3 separate regions of the Homo sapiens genome follow, and all the other regions are linked to region 1. Evidence: promoter capture Hi-C in 16 types of primary human blood cells and fetal thymus (Javierre and others, 2016). All regions are on one chromosome and are shown on one strand. Each heading gives the region's core, a stretch centred on a gene start or on the middle of the fragment in contact. The rest is flanking DNA. Distances are from core to core; before and after follow the strand shown.

The links. The method cuts DNA at HindIII sites, captures the fragments that hold promoters and counts their contacts. A CHiCAGO score of 5 or more calls a contact.
Region 2: a contact is called between a fragment that was not itself captured here and the fragment with the promoter of LINC02909 in region 1, in 1 of 17 cell types (total B cells). The highest score is 5.9, in total B cells.
Region 3: a contact is called between a fragment that was not itself captured here and the fragment with the promoter of LINC02909 in region 1, in 1 of 17 cell types (neutrophils). The highest score is 6.9, in neutrophils.

The regions. Positions count from the first base shown.
Region 1 is chr12:24,995,699-25,000,040 of GRCh38, forward strand. LINC02909 (long intergenic non-protein coding RNA 2909) reads right to left here and starts at 1,767. Exons shown (of 4, transcript NR_171024.1): 1 at 1,534-1,767; 2 at 499-641; 3 at 109-369. It also overlaps a transcript of IRAG2 not described here. RefSeq lists enhancers at 2,326-2,455, 2,706-2,815. The HindIII fragment of the contact is 1,157 bases long and covers 1,365-2,521 here.
Region 2 is chr12:25,196,216-25,200,557 of GRCh38, forward strand. The region is part of intron 1 of ETFRF1 (electron transfer flavoprotein regulatory factor 1); the gene reads left to right. Among named protein-coding and RNA genes, the nearest start is that of ETFRF1, 3.2 kb to the left of the region's middle. The HindIII fragment of the contact is 1,127 bases long and covers 1,107-2,233 here.
Region 3 is chr12:25,177,742-25,182,083 of GRCh38, forward strand. The region is part of intron 2 of DNAI7 (dynein axonemal intermediate chain 7); the gene reads right to left. Among named protein-coding and RNA genes, the nearest start is that of DNAI7, 15 kb to the right of the region's middle. The HindIII fragment of the contact is 7,373 bases long and covers 1-4,342 here.

The DNA.
Region 1 (4,342 bases), core at 517-3,016:
CCTTGAAATGCCATTTTGAAAACTGGGATTGGCATCCCTTACAGGTTCTCTAATTAGTTGCTTTCAGATTACTTGGCAAGTAAAGGACTATGTTGTTATGAACCCCACCTGCAGTATATCCCGAACAGGAATCTCCATCTTGGGTTTCTTTTTGTAAAGTCTGCATTTGACCCCTTTACACTCTTTTCCGTGTTCATAAACGTGCTCAGGGTTGGAAAAGCTGTTTCAGTAGAGATGGCATATTTCTGGTGGCATTCGGGGGCAGGTACAGGAGTTGCAGGCATCCATCGTATGCTGTCCAGCGTCTGCACGTTCCCTTGTTTGCTCCCAGTGGGTAGAGAACCCGGCATTGTGGGTACCTTATTAGAACTGTCAGGAGGTAATATTACATAAATAATGAAATAACATGTTAATGCAATTCATTACAGGTTCGTTGGAATTTATTGTTCAGGTTATTCCTTTCACTGCTCTGAGAAACATCAGGTATACTAGACTCACCTGAAGCAGGATGTAAGCGTATAATTTGTCAGACGGGCAATATGGTCTAGTGGATCCAGAATTTGAATATTATTTCTGGCTCTGCTGCTGGCTTCCTTTATGACTAGGAGGGAAATGTCTCTGGGTGTTGCCAGTTTCGGTATCTGTGGATTGATAAGCAGATCGCAAGCATGGATGTTATAATAGGTTATTTCATGGGAAATTAAACAGCAAATCTAATGAGAGGAGCGGGTTACTTGGTCATTTCTTTCTAGGTGCTATTTGGTGCTTTAAGAGGACCTCTAGTATTGGATAAGTTAAAGGAGTTTCAGAAAGTGCATCATAACAACATTACTGAGAGCTCAGAATGTGCTACATGGTTCTGAGGGCCATCTGCGTATTAACCTCATTTAATCCCTGCAGCACACCCGGAGGTCATTGCATGATATTGATGCAATTTTACAGATGAAGAAACTGAAGCACATATGGTTAAATAATTTGTCCAAGATCACAAAGCTAGTAAGCAGCAGAACTGGGGTTTGAACTCAGGTTATTTAAACTCAGAGCCCCAGTTCTTATTCCCCAGTATTTGACTCCCCTTTGCTCTCACCTGGTGATAGAAATGATAATGACCAGGCTGAGCGCAATGGCTCACACCTGTAATCCCAGCACCTTGGGAGACTGAGGCAGGTAGATCGCTTGAGCTCAGGAGTTTGAGACCAGCCTGGGCAACACAACAAAACCCCATCTCTACAAAAGATACAAAAATTAGCTGGCTGTGGTGGCATGCCCCTGTCATTTCAGTTACTTGGCAGGCTGAGGTGGGGGAGTGGCTTGAGCCCAGTAGGCAGAGATTGAAGTGAGCTGAGATCGTGCCACTGCACTCAAGCTTGGGCAACAAAGCAACACTCCATTTCCAAAAAACAAAAGAAAAAGTATGAGATTTAACTTAAAAATAATTTTCCTTCATCTGATTAGAAAGTATAATCAGGATGAGCTTTAGTGTGTTGTTTTTTGTAGAGCCGGGCGGGGACCGGGGGTGGGGGGGGGTCTCACCATGTTGCCCAGGCTGGTCTTGAACTCCTGGGCTCAAGCGATCCTCCCACCTCAGCCTCCCAAAGTGCTGGGATTACAGGTGAAAGACACTGCACCTGGACTATCTTTCTGTTATTGCTGTGGTGGGGAGCACACCAAAATAGTGCCTGTCATCCTCATCCTTCCTAGGCATCTTTCCCAGCACTGCTGCTGTGATTAGTACCTTAACTCCAGCCTAGGCAGGTGCAGTGCATCAGCGGCTCTCTTCTCTAGCTTCTTTTACCTCAGCCCAAGCCACTCTGTAGAAATGGGCTCCACCCATGTCATCTGACCTGTAGGTCTCCACTCTTTCTTCCCAGTTCTCAGATGGTTCTTGGAGCACTGGCGAAGTCAAGCGAAAATAAGGTGGTGAGTTTTCCCCAACGAAATAATTAAATTTTGGCTGATGCTGGCCTTTAGTCATCGAAGGCCGAGAAAGTACCGCCCTAACCAGGGAAAAGCAATATCAGATGTAGGCTGTTCTGTTGTGTCTCAACCTCAAAATGCTTGTGGCAAAAGGGACAAACCTCCAATAAGTCTATATTAGAGGTTCAACAGAGTTCATTGAAAACTTGAAACAAATCTGAAAAGAAAAACACTCTACAAATAGGGAAAAAAGATGGGTAGCTGAGAGTGATAAAGTGAGATTCCCCAGATATGTTGCTGTCACCACAGGCAAATCTCAAATTGTTTTCAATGGAGCTTTTGGAAATTTAAATTAATCCTGCCATTTTCAGGCTTGGTCGTTTGGAATGTGTGTTAGTGAAACGCAGTGATGTAGTTTTATAGACTGTAAGAACCTTGGAGGCACCTGAATTCTTGAAGCTAGAGATTTATTGTAGGTCTTCTCTTGTTCTCTGAGAAGAAAACCAGACTTCATATAACAAGAAGTGAGACAGAAGAACAGTTTTCAGAAGCATGTGTCACTCTGCTATTTTAGGAATTGTTCCAATAAGAGATGTTTATAGTAAGCTTGGTGTGACCCAGCCAAGAAGCTTAATATAACAAGGTTAACTGAATTGTGGGAGGAAAGTTTCTAGCCTATACCAGCTTGCATTTATTAATAATCAGAAAGGTTGCGGATGACAGACTTGCTGAGCATTTACTAAATCTGGTACTTGTGGTTTGCAAATCATGTGATTAACAGCTGCTATCATCTATCCTAGAAACGGCAGGAAGAAGTGTTATTATTTTATCACATAAAATAGTAGTCACAAAGAGAATGAAAACAGTTTAATTTGGCAGATATAAAATTCACTGGTTAAGCAGAAAACCATGCTCTGCCCTCCCACTGAGCTCACTAAAGATGGGTTTCCTGGGAATGTCTCAGTGAACAGATGTTTCTTCTTAGGTTTTGATGAAGAGTTTAGTGGCATCTAATCATTAGTGAAGGGTTGTTTTGGCAAAAGGAATCTCTTGTCTATCTACACACATACTTAAATTTTTTTTTTTACGTATATTAAGGATTTTGCATTAATTACCAATAGGATCTCACATAGATGAATCATGAATGATTGACTGGCTTTCCTAATCAAGTTTTGAATGATTTTAAAAATCAGCCTGCCTGATCTAAGGTTTGGAAGTTCAATGCTCAATAAATAACTTTAGTAAAGGGAGGAAAACATTTTAAAGGAAAAAAACAGGAAAGATAATTACATTGTTAATCTGTTTGGAGTTAGAATTTGATTCAGAAAGATTTCTACAGAGCCTTTTGAATCACCCTGAAATCTGCCAGCTTTTTCCAGGATGCTGCTTTTGTACCTCTGTATACATCATATGCCATTCTTTGCAATAAAATGCAACTTTCTTAGTGATTGAATAATATAGATGTTGATAAACACAAATTATGTCATGTTGTTTACATATACATTCCTAAAGAATAAGAAATATTGTCTACATTGTACATACGTAGTAGATTAACTCATTGAAGTCAGAACAAATGTAGATTTCTATAAGTCCCAAAGAGTATGGATGTCTTAGAGGTTGATGTTGAAGTCTGCAGTTACACTGGTGGTGAAAATCAAATATATAACGAATAACTTTAGGTAAGAATCAAATCGGACTTGTTTTACAGATGTTGCCATGTGTTAGAGGATTTTACTTGTTGCTTTATAGTTTTGGATCGGGCAGATGGTTGAAAAGTGTTGATTCAAGAGCTTTGACTGTATGGAACAAGATAATTGAGGCAATAATAATAATGGGACTCAGAATCTATAAGCCAGAGCAATGAAGCATAGTTCAATCAATAGGAGGAATAAAAAAGATTAGCAACATAAGCAGTATCGATAATCTCTAACATCATTTTACATTACATTTAGCTCACATGAATCCAAGTGGAAATTCCTCTAACAGATTTATAGTTCCACTTCTTAATTTTCTGTTTATAACCCTAGAAATAGCAAACAATATGTATAACATTCTGTGCAGTGCATATAATAGCCACATAATAGATGCTCCTAAATTTTTCCTAGCCTCACTCCCAAGCTGGGATAATTTCCTATTATAGGTTCTCATGGCTCCTGACTATGTAATTATTTATTTGACATTTTTCAGGTTGTCAGATTTAGCTAAAAAAAAAAAAAATACAAGACAGCCAGTGAAATTTGAATTTCAAATAAACAACAAATAATTTTCCAGTATAACTATGTCCTGTGCAACATTTGGGGGCATACTTACACTAAAAAATTAGTCATTGTTTATCTGAGATTAAAATTTTATTGGGCTTCCTAAATTTAACCTAATAGCTCTAGTGGCTTACTTGTTCATAGCTGTATCTTCCACAGACTACGAG
Region 2 (4,342 bases), core at 420-2,919, 200 kb after region 1:
ATATCCTGGTAGCAAGATAAAAACATTTTAATAGCGACTTCGTACAGAGTTCTTACTCAGTTTACCATAGCTGTTTGATATGAAAGTTAAGGCTTCCTTTTAAATTAGTTTCAGTAAAACTAATGTTTAATGATAAAACACCTCAGTCAACTCAAGTTAGGATTCATCGGGGTAAGGAGATAGTTCAGTAATCCCAAGTTACCTTAAAATAGTGGGCTTTTAGAGGAAAGGCTTTACTGAAGCTCTCACTGTATCTACCCCATGGGGAACAATGATTAACAACTTTGGCCACCACATAACCCCCAGTAAAATGACAATTTTCCATTAGCCTGGAACTGGAACTGGTTAAGTCCTAACTCCTTAGCCTAGAATGACAGGGGGAAAAAACTATCAATGGGGACTGCAACCGCTGTCTCATCCAGCGCACACATCCAAGTTTTCAGAATAATAGGGGGCTTCTCTTAGTCCTTAACTCTTGGCTCTTTACTTAAAACAGTAACCTCCATGACTTCATGCAGAGTTCAGGAGCAGCCTCAGGGCCCTGCTGAACTCAAAATTGTTTATTCACTACATTGTGAACCCAAGGAGACCTATTTCTCTTAGTGGCTAAAGTAAACCTAAATGCTTCAAGGTCAACTGCATAAAGATAAACTGCATTGCCTGGTGTGGTGGCTCACGCCTGTAATCCCAGCATTTTGAGAGGCCAAAGTGGGTGGATCACGAGGTCTGGAGATGGAGACCATCCTGGATAACACAGTGAAACCCCGTCTCTACTAAAATAATACAAAAAATTAGCCGGGCGTGGTGATCAGCACCTGTAATCCCAGCTGCTCTGGAGGCTGAGACGGGAATCGCTTGAACCCGGGAGAGGGAGGTTGCAGTGAGCCAAGATCGCACCACTACACTCCAGCCGGGTCAACAGAGCAAGACTCCGTCTCAAAAAAAAAAAAAGATAAACTGCATTAATTCATATAAGTTAACATATCAAAGAAGAACAAATTTGCCATAGCCACACTAGTTACATTTTTGCTGGGCAAGTGTTTTATGATACATAATTTGTAAAAAGACCAACAACTAAAAAGGACAACTTAAGCCAGGTCCCTGAAAGCTTTCACAAGTTACAAATTGTGAATTAAATGAAGCTGTGCTGTTAGGCATTAAACAGGTTATAGTTTGCAATTCGAAATTACATCTATGTATATTTAATTTTAAATTATGTGAAAAGAACATGGTTCCGAAGAGGTGTTTTTTGTTTGTTTTGTTTTGAGACAGGGTCTCAAAATGAATTTTGCCCAGGTTGGAGTGGTGGAACAATCACGGCTCACTACAGCCTCAACCTCCTGGGCTCAAGCGATCCTCCCACCTCAGCCTCTCAAATAGCTGAGACTACAGGCACACGCCACCATGCCTGGCTAATATTTTTTTACTTTTAGTAGAGACAAGGTCTCACTCACTATGTTGCCCAGGCTGGTCTCAAACTCCTGAGCTCAAGCCATCCTCCAGCCCTGGCCTCCCAAAGTGCTGAGATTACAGGTACAAGCCACCATGCCCAGCCTAAGAATCATTCTTAGTAAGATTATTTCACGCTGCTAATGGCTCTCTGCCAAAAGAAAAAAAAGGAAGTTTAAAGAATGAAGTAGTTAATATAGTGGGTTAAATACCCTCATCTAATTTTACTCCCTTCCAAAACTACTAAATCTACAGTAAAATGATATAAAAATAAATTGGAAAAATGGGGACAGGAGGTAACAGCAATAAAACTCAGAAGCTGGAAAACAGGTGAATGAATGTGACTTAGCACACCAGAAAAACCCAATTCACTCTGCAGAATTCTCAAAAGGCACTGAAACACGCACCCTGAAATTGGAAGTGGACTACATGAAAGCTATTTGAGAAACACCTCTAAGTAACTCTACCCCCTTACTCCCATAGAAGACTAGAGGTTTATTTCTGGACAAAGTAATACTAGTCCCTGGACTGGGGCATCCTCAGGCATTCTAGAGAAGCACACTGGAAACAAAGTTAAGTGAATTTAGGAATACATAATGCTGGATGCAGGGCCCGCATTCCTCTTATCCTTAGAAGACTGGAAGACTCAACTCTGAGGAACTGACCAGCCCAGGAGGAGCAATCCAAGATAGTGACATCAGAGGTTCCCCAGTAAAGGCCCACCCAGAGCACCCTAAGTGAAGCCCAGAGTCTATATGCTTCACCCACGTATACAGATCTAAAAAGCTTTTTTGTCTTTTCATTCATAAGAGTAGACAGAAAAGAATGACCAGACTTTGGAAGAAAGCTCAGAAGTGATAGAGACAGAAGCAAGCAGAAAAGCAATTTGAAGTAAAACAGCTCAGAAGTGATAAGAGACAAAAGCAAGCAGAAAAGCAATTTGAAGTAAAACAACAGAAAATTTCAAGAAAGCAAGAATCAGTGAACTTGGAAAGAAAAAATGCCTACATAATATGCTTGTTATGTGAATTAGCTCATTAACTAGTAGTAAGTACAATTTAACAAGTATTAATGTAGAAGTATTTTTTTCCCTAGGAAAGAGGAGCCAGAAAAGCAGTAAATGTATGACCTTCAGTTAAGAAAAGGTCATGGCTTCACTGCTATGCTGGCGGCAAGTGTCTTTCAGATTTTTTCATTGATTCAAGTGTATATTCCAGGGTTCCTTCCCCAGAGAGGCATACCCCAAGTTCTGTGTAGCCATCGACTGAGGACAGGTAGAGTCACCTATCCTACCCACGAATTGGCAGCCTTGTGGTTTAGATGGATTTCTACTTCCATGTGTTATTTCAGCATCTCTTAGCTCTGTTCTTAGACTTTGGCTGGCATTTCTATTATTTTTTTAAGTTTTGCTGAAGTAGAATTGACACTGAATTACACTTACAAAGTATAATTCGATAAATTTGGTTCATATATATACACATCTATATATGCATATTTATAGATATATATGTGCTATAATATATACTACATATAGTATAATATATAGTATACATATTTTTGTTTCCATAGAAACAAAAATAAAAGGAATTACTATGTACTATATACTATATATATCTACTATATACTACGTAGTATGTACTACATAGTACATATAGTACATATAGTACATACTGTACTATGTAGTATATAGTAATATATATAGTACATAACTATATATGTACTACATAGTACATACTATGTAGTATATGGTAGATATATATACCATAGTATACTATATACTAAAAATGGCTGGCTACCTCTGTTTGTCAATATATATTTTAATATATTTTTGCAAGTAATAGAAATGCCAGCAAAAGTCTAAGAACAGGGCTAAGTGGTGGGAAAACTACATACTATATACTATATAGTATCTATACTAATTATATAGATTTGTATATATACATATATGTATACATACACACACACACACACACACACACACACAATGAAGCCATCACCACAATCAAGACAATAAATATATCCACTATCCACAAAGGTTGCCTTGTGCATCTTTGATTCCTTCCTGGTCTCCAGCCCCTACTCCCATTCCCAGGCTACTCTATTATAATTTTTGAGTATTTTTAACATCTCTATAGTAGTCTCCAGCTATGCTGAGAGCAATCTGAGTGGTCAAAATTAACTGTCCAGGAAGAGCAGAAATGAACAACTCAGTAGAACACTTGGAAGAAGAAAATGAGAAAATCCCCCATACAACTAAATAAAAGGCTGGGCGCAGAGGCACACACCTGTTATCCCAGCACTTTGGGAAACCAAGGAGAGTGGATCACCTCAGGTCAGGAGTTCGAGACCAGCCTGGCCAACATGGTGAAAAGCCATCTCTACTAAAAATACATAAATTAGCCATGCTTAGTGGCAGGCACCTGTAATTCCAGCTACTTGGGAGGCTGAGGCAGGAGAATCACTTGAACCCAGGAGGCGGAGGTTGCAATGAGTTGAGATCAGGCCATTGCTCTCCAGCGTGGGTGATAAGAGCGAAACTCCATGCTTAAAAAAAAAAGACAAATGGAAAATAGTACAGAAAAAAGGAAGAGAACATGTTTAGAAGTTCAAACATCCAAATAATAAAAGTTCCAGGAAGGGAGAAAAAAGAAAATGGAGGAGGGAGGAAATCATGAATGAAATCATTTAAAATTTTTTCCCAAATTGAAGGAAACAAGTGTCCAGATTGCAAGGGCCAACTGAGTGTCCAGTACAATGGATAAAAATAAATCCATTATCAACACATCACTAACATTTCAAAATCTTCATGGAGAAGATTCTGTAAGTTTCTGGGGAGAGAGAGAAAAAATACATCACATACAGAGGATCACTTACCAGGACTGCTTTGAACTTA
Region 3 (4,342 bases), core at 844-3,343, 180 kb after region 1:
TTACACCTCCACAATCATTATTTCAAATTTACACTCCCACAATTATTATCCAAGTCAATATTTGCTAATTTCAGCACTTTTGCTCATCTAAAAGGTGTTAAAAAATACAGACATCTTTATCAGACTAAGAAAGTGCGCTGTAACCTATCAAATGGTAAAGTGCATTAAATGCATTTCTAATTCAATCTAATTGTATTTATTTAATTTCTCATATTAAACCAACTCTCCCTTCCTGGGATAAACTGAATTGTGTCATGATTTATTATCATCTTCCAGATTGAGCCTGGTAACATTTTGTTTAGGATTTTTGTATTTGTGTCATGAATGCACTTCCATTTTCCTTTCTCATAATATCTTCAGATTATCCATTTAACTCAAAATGACTTAAGGAGTGTTCCCCCTTTTGTCATGCTCTAGAAGAATCTGTATTAAGTGTGAAATTATTTCTTTACCTCTGAATGAAAAACTAGCATATAAAGACTTATGGACCTAGAATTTTCTTTCTGGGAATATTTATAACCACTGATTTAATTTCTTAAATGATTATAGGACTATTCAGGTTTTCTACTTCTTCATGAAAACAGTTTAATTTTTTTCTGGCTATTTGTCTAATTCATCTAAGTTTTCTAATATATTGGCATAAAAAGTTGCTCAAATAATGTCATTTATTGTTAAAGTCATGTCTCCCTTTTCATTCTTAATATTTATCATTTATGCCTTTTGTTCTTCTTGACATATCAGATAATTGTCAATTTTATCAGTTTTCAAAGAAATCTACTGTGACTTGTTCATTTATTTAATAAATACTGAGAGGCTAACATGTGCCTCTTATTTGAGATATAAAAGTAAACAAAAATCCTTGCACTTACAATTCAAATGTAAACAGGAAGGCAAAAACAATATACTAAAATTTAAAATAAATTATACAATATTTTAAGGAGTGATAAGTGATATGGAAGAAAGTAGGGGGACTCCAGATGGCTGGTGTAGTTGTGAAAGGGACGAAATCACAATTCTAAATACAGTGGTTTGGATTGGCCTCATGGAGAAGGCGGCATTTAAGTGAAGACTTGAAGGATATGAGGTTACTGACCCACTCTATTCTGTGTTTTCTATTAATGTCCATATTTGTTCTTATTATTTCCTTTCTTCTCCTTCCTTCTATATTTGTTCTTATTATTTCCTTCCTTCTCCTTTGGGTTTTATTCTTTTTCTGAATTCTTGAGAAGGATACCTAGGATCATTAATTTTTAGCCTTTTTTCTTCTTCTAATATAAATATTTAGGTCTACATATTTCCCTCTAAGTATTGCTTTACATACATTCCACAAATTTTTAAGTATTTTCCTTAACAATAAGTTTAAAATATTTTCTAATTTCCATTATATTACTTCTTGACCCATTTTAGAATGTTTTAAAAATTCCAAGCATATTGTACCTTCCTGTTTGCTACTGAATTATTTTTACCTTCAATATAATATTCATTATGATACATTCTCTGAATTGTTTTCATGCACTGAACTTTGAGAATAGTTTTGTATCATAGTATACTAGCAATTTTGGGGGAAAATGTTTGCGTGCTTAGAATCCTCTACTTGTTTGGTGTGGTGTTCTAAATATGTTTAATTCATTAGGTTTGTTTATCATGTTGCTCCAATCTTCTAAATCCTTACTGATTTTTTAAACATTATTCTATTAATTATTGAAAGAGAAAATCTTCCACTATGATTGTGGATGTGTCTATTTGTGGATGTGTCTATTTCTCCTTGTAGTTCCCTGAATTTGTGCATTGTATATTTCAAGGCTTTGTAAGTAGGTATACACAAATTTAAAATTAGATTTCCTTGGCTAATCAAGTCTTTATCATCATGCAAGGATGGTTCAACATACACAAATCAATAAATGTGATTTACCACATAAGCAGAATTAAAAACAAAAACCATATGATCATCCCAATAGACACAGAAAACCCTTTTGATAAAATCCAATATCCTTTCATGATTAAAAAAAAAAACCCTCAAAAAACTAGGTATCAAATGAACATATCTCAAACTAGTAAGAACCATCTATGTATGACAAACCCACAGCCAACATCATACTGAATAGGCAAAAGCTGAAAGCATTCCCCCTAAGAACTGGAACATGAAAAGGGTGTCCACTCTCATCATTCCTATTCAATAGTACTGGAAATCCTAGCCATACCAATCAGTCAAGAGAAAGCAATAAAAGGCATCCAAATAGGAAAAGAGAAAGTCAAATTATCTTTGTTCACTGACAACATGATCCTATGCCTAGAAAACGGTAAAGATTCCTCCAAATACCTCCTGGACCTGATAAACGACTTCAGTAAAGTTTCAGGATACAACATGCAAAAACAAGTAGCATTTCTACACACCAACAACGTTTAAGCTGAGAAGCAAATCAAGAACTCAATCCCATTTACAACAGTCATGCACACAAAAATAAAATATCTAGAAATATATTTAACCAAGGAGGTGAAATATCTCTACAAAGAGAACTACAAAACACTGCTGAAAGAAATCACAGATGGCACAAACAAATGGAAAAATAATCCATGCTCACGGATTAGAAGAATCAGTATCACTAAAATGATCACACTGCCCAAAGCAATCTACAGATTCAATGCAATTCCTATCAAATTACCAACGTTATTTTTCACAGAACTAGAAAAAACAATTCTAAAATGTATATGAAACCAAAAAAGAGCCCACACAGCCAAGGCAATCCTAAGCAAAAAGAAGAAAGCTGGAGCCATCACGTTACCAAACTTCAAAACTATACTACAGGCTGTAGCAACCAAAATAACATGGTATTGGTATAAAAATAGATCAATGGAACACAATAGAGAACCCAGAAATAAAGCCATACACCTACAACCAACTGATCTTCAACAAAGTTAGCAAAAATAAACAAACAATGGGGAAAGGACACTGGGTTCAATAAATGATGCTAGGAAAACTGGCTAGCCACTTGCAGAAGAATGAAACTGGACCCCTAACTCTTAACATATATAAAAATTAACTCAAGATGGATTAAAGACTTAAATATAAGACCTCAAACTATAATTTTTTTTTTCACTCTTGTCGCCCAGGCTGGAGTGTGTGGTGCAATCTCGGCTCACTGCAACCTCTGCCTCCCGGGTTCAAGAGATTCTCCTGCTTCAGCCTCCTGAGTAGCTGGGATTACAGGCGCCTGCCACCACGATCGGCTAATTTTTTGTATTTTTAGTAGACACGGGGTTTCGCCATGTTGGGCAGGCTGATCTCGAACTCCTGACCTCAGATGATCCGCCTGCCTTGGCCTCCCAAAGTGCTGGGACTATAGGCATGAGCCATCGTGCCCGGCCTATAATTTTTTTTAAGAGACAGAGTCTCGCTTTGTCATTCAGGAAAGAATGGGAGTGCAGTGGTGCAATCATAGCTTACTGTAATCTCAAACTCCTGGGCTCACGCAATTCTCCCACCTCAGCCTCAGGAGTAGCTAGAATTACAGATGCATGCCACTGCATCTGGCTAATTTTTTATTTTCATTTTTTGCAGAGGTGGGGGGGTCTCACTATGTTTCCCAGGTTGGTCTTGAACTCCCGGCCTCAAGCAATCCTTCTGCTTCAGCCTCCCAAAGTGTTGGGATTACAGGTGTGCACTATTGCATCCAGCCAAGACCTCAAACTATAAAAACCCTAAAAGAAAACCAGGAAAAACTCTTCTGGGCATTGGCCTAGGCAAATAATTTATAACTAAGACCTTAAAAGCAATTGCAACAAAAACAAAAATTGATGAATGGGACTTAATTAAACTAAAGAGCTTCTGCATAGCAAAAGAAACAACACAGTCAACAGACAACCTACAAAACAGGAGAAAATATTTTCAAACTATGCATCTGACAAAGGACAAATACCCAGAATCGATAAGGAACTTAATAAGAAAAAAAAAGCCCCATTAAAAAGTGGGGAAAGGACATGAACAGATACTTCTCAAAAGAGGACATATAAGTGGCAACACACATGAACAAATGCTCAAGATCACTAATCAGATAAATTTCAATTAAAACCACAGTGAGATATCATCTCACACTAGTCAGAATGTCTACTATTAAAAAATTAAAAAAAGGGACATGTTGGTGAGGATGCAGAAAAAAGGGAACTGTTGGTATGAATGTAAATTAGTTCAACCCCTATTGAAAACAATATGAAGATTTATTAAAGAATTTAAAATAAACCTACCATTCAACCCAGCAATCCCACTACTGGGTATCTGCTGAAAAGAAAAGAAATTTTTTTTTTTTTTTTCAAAGAGACACCTGTAGGCTGGGCGCGGTGGCTC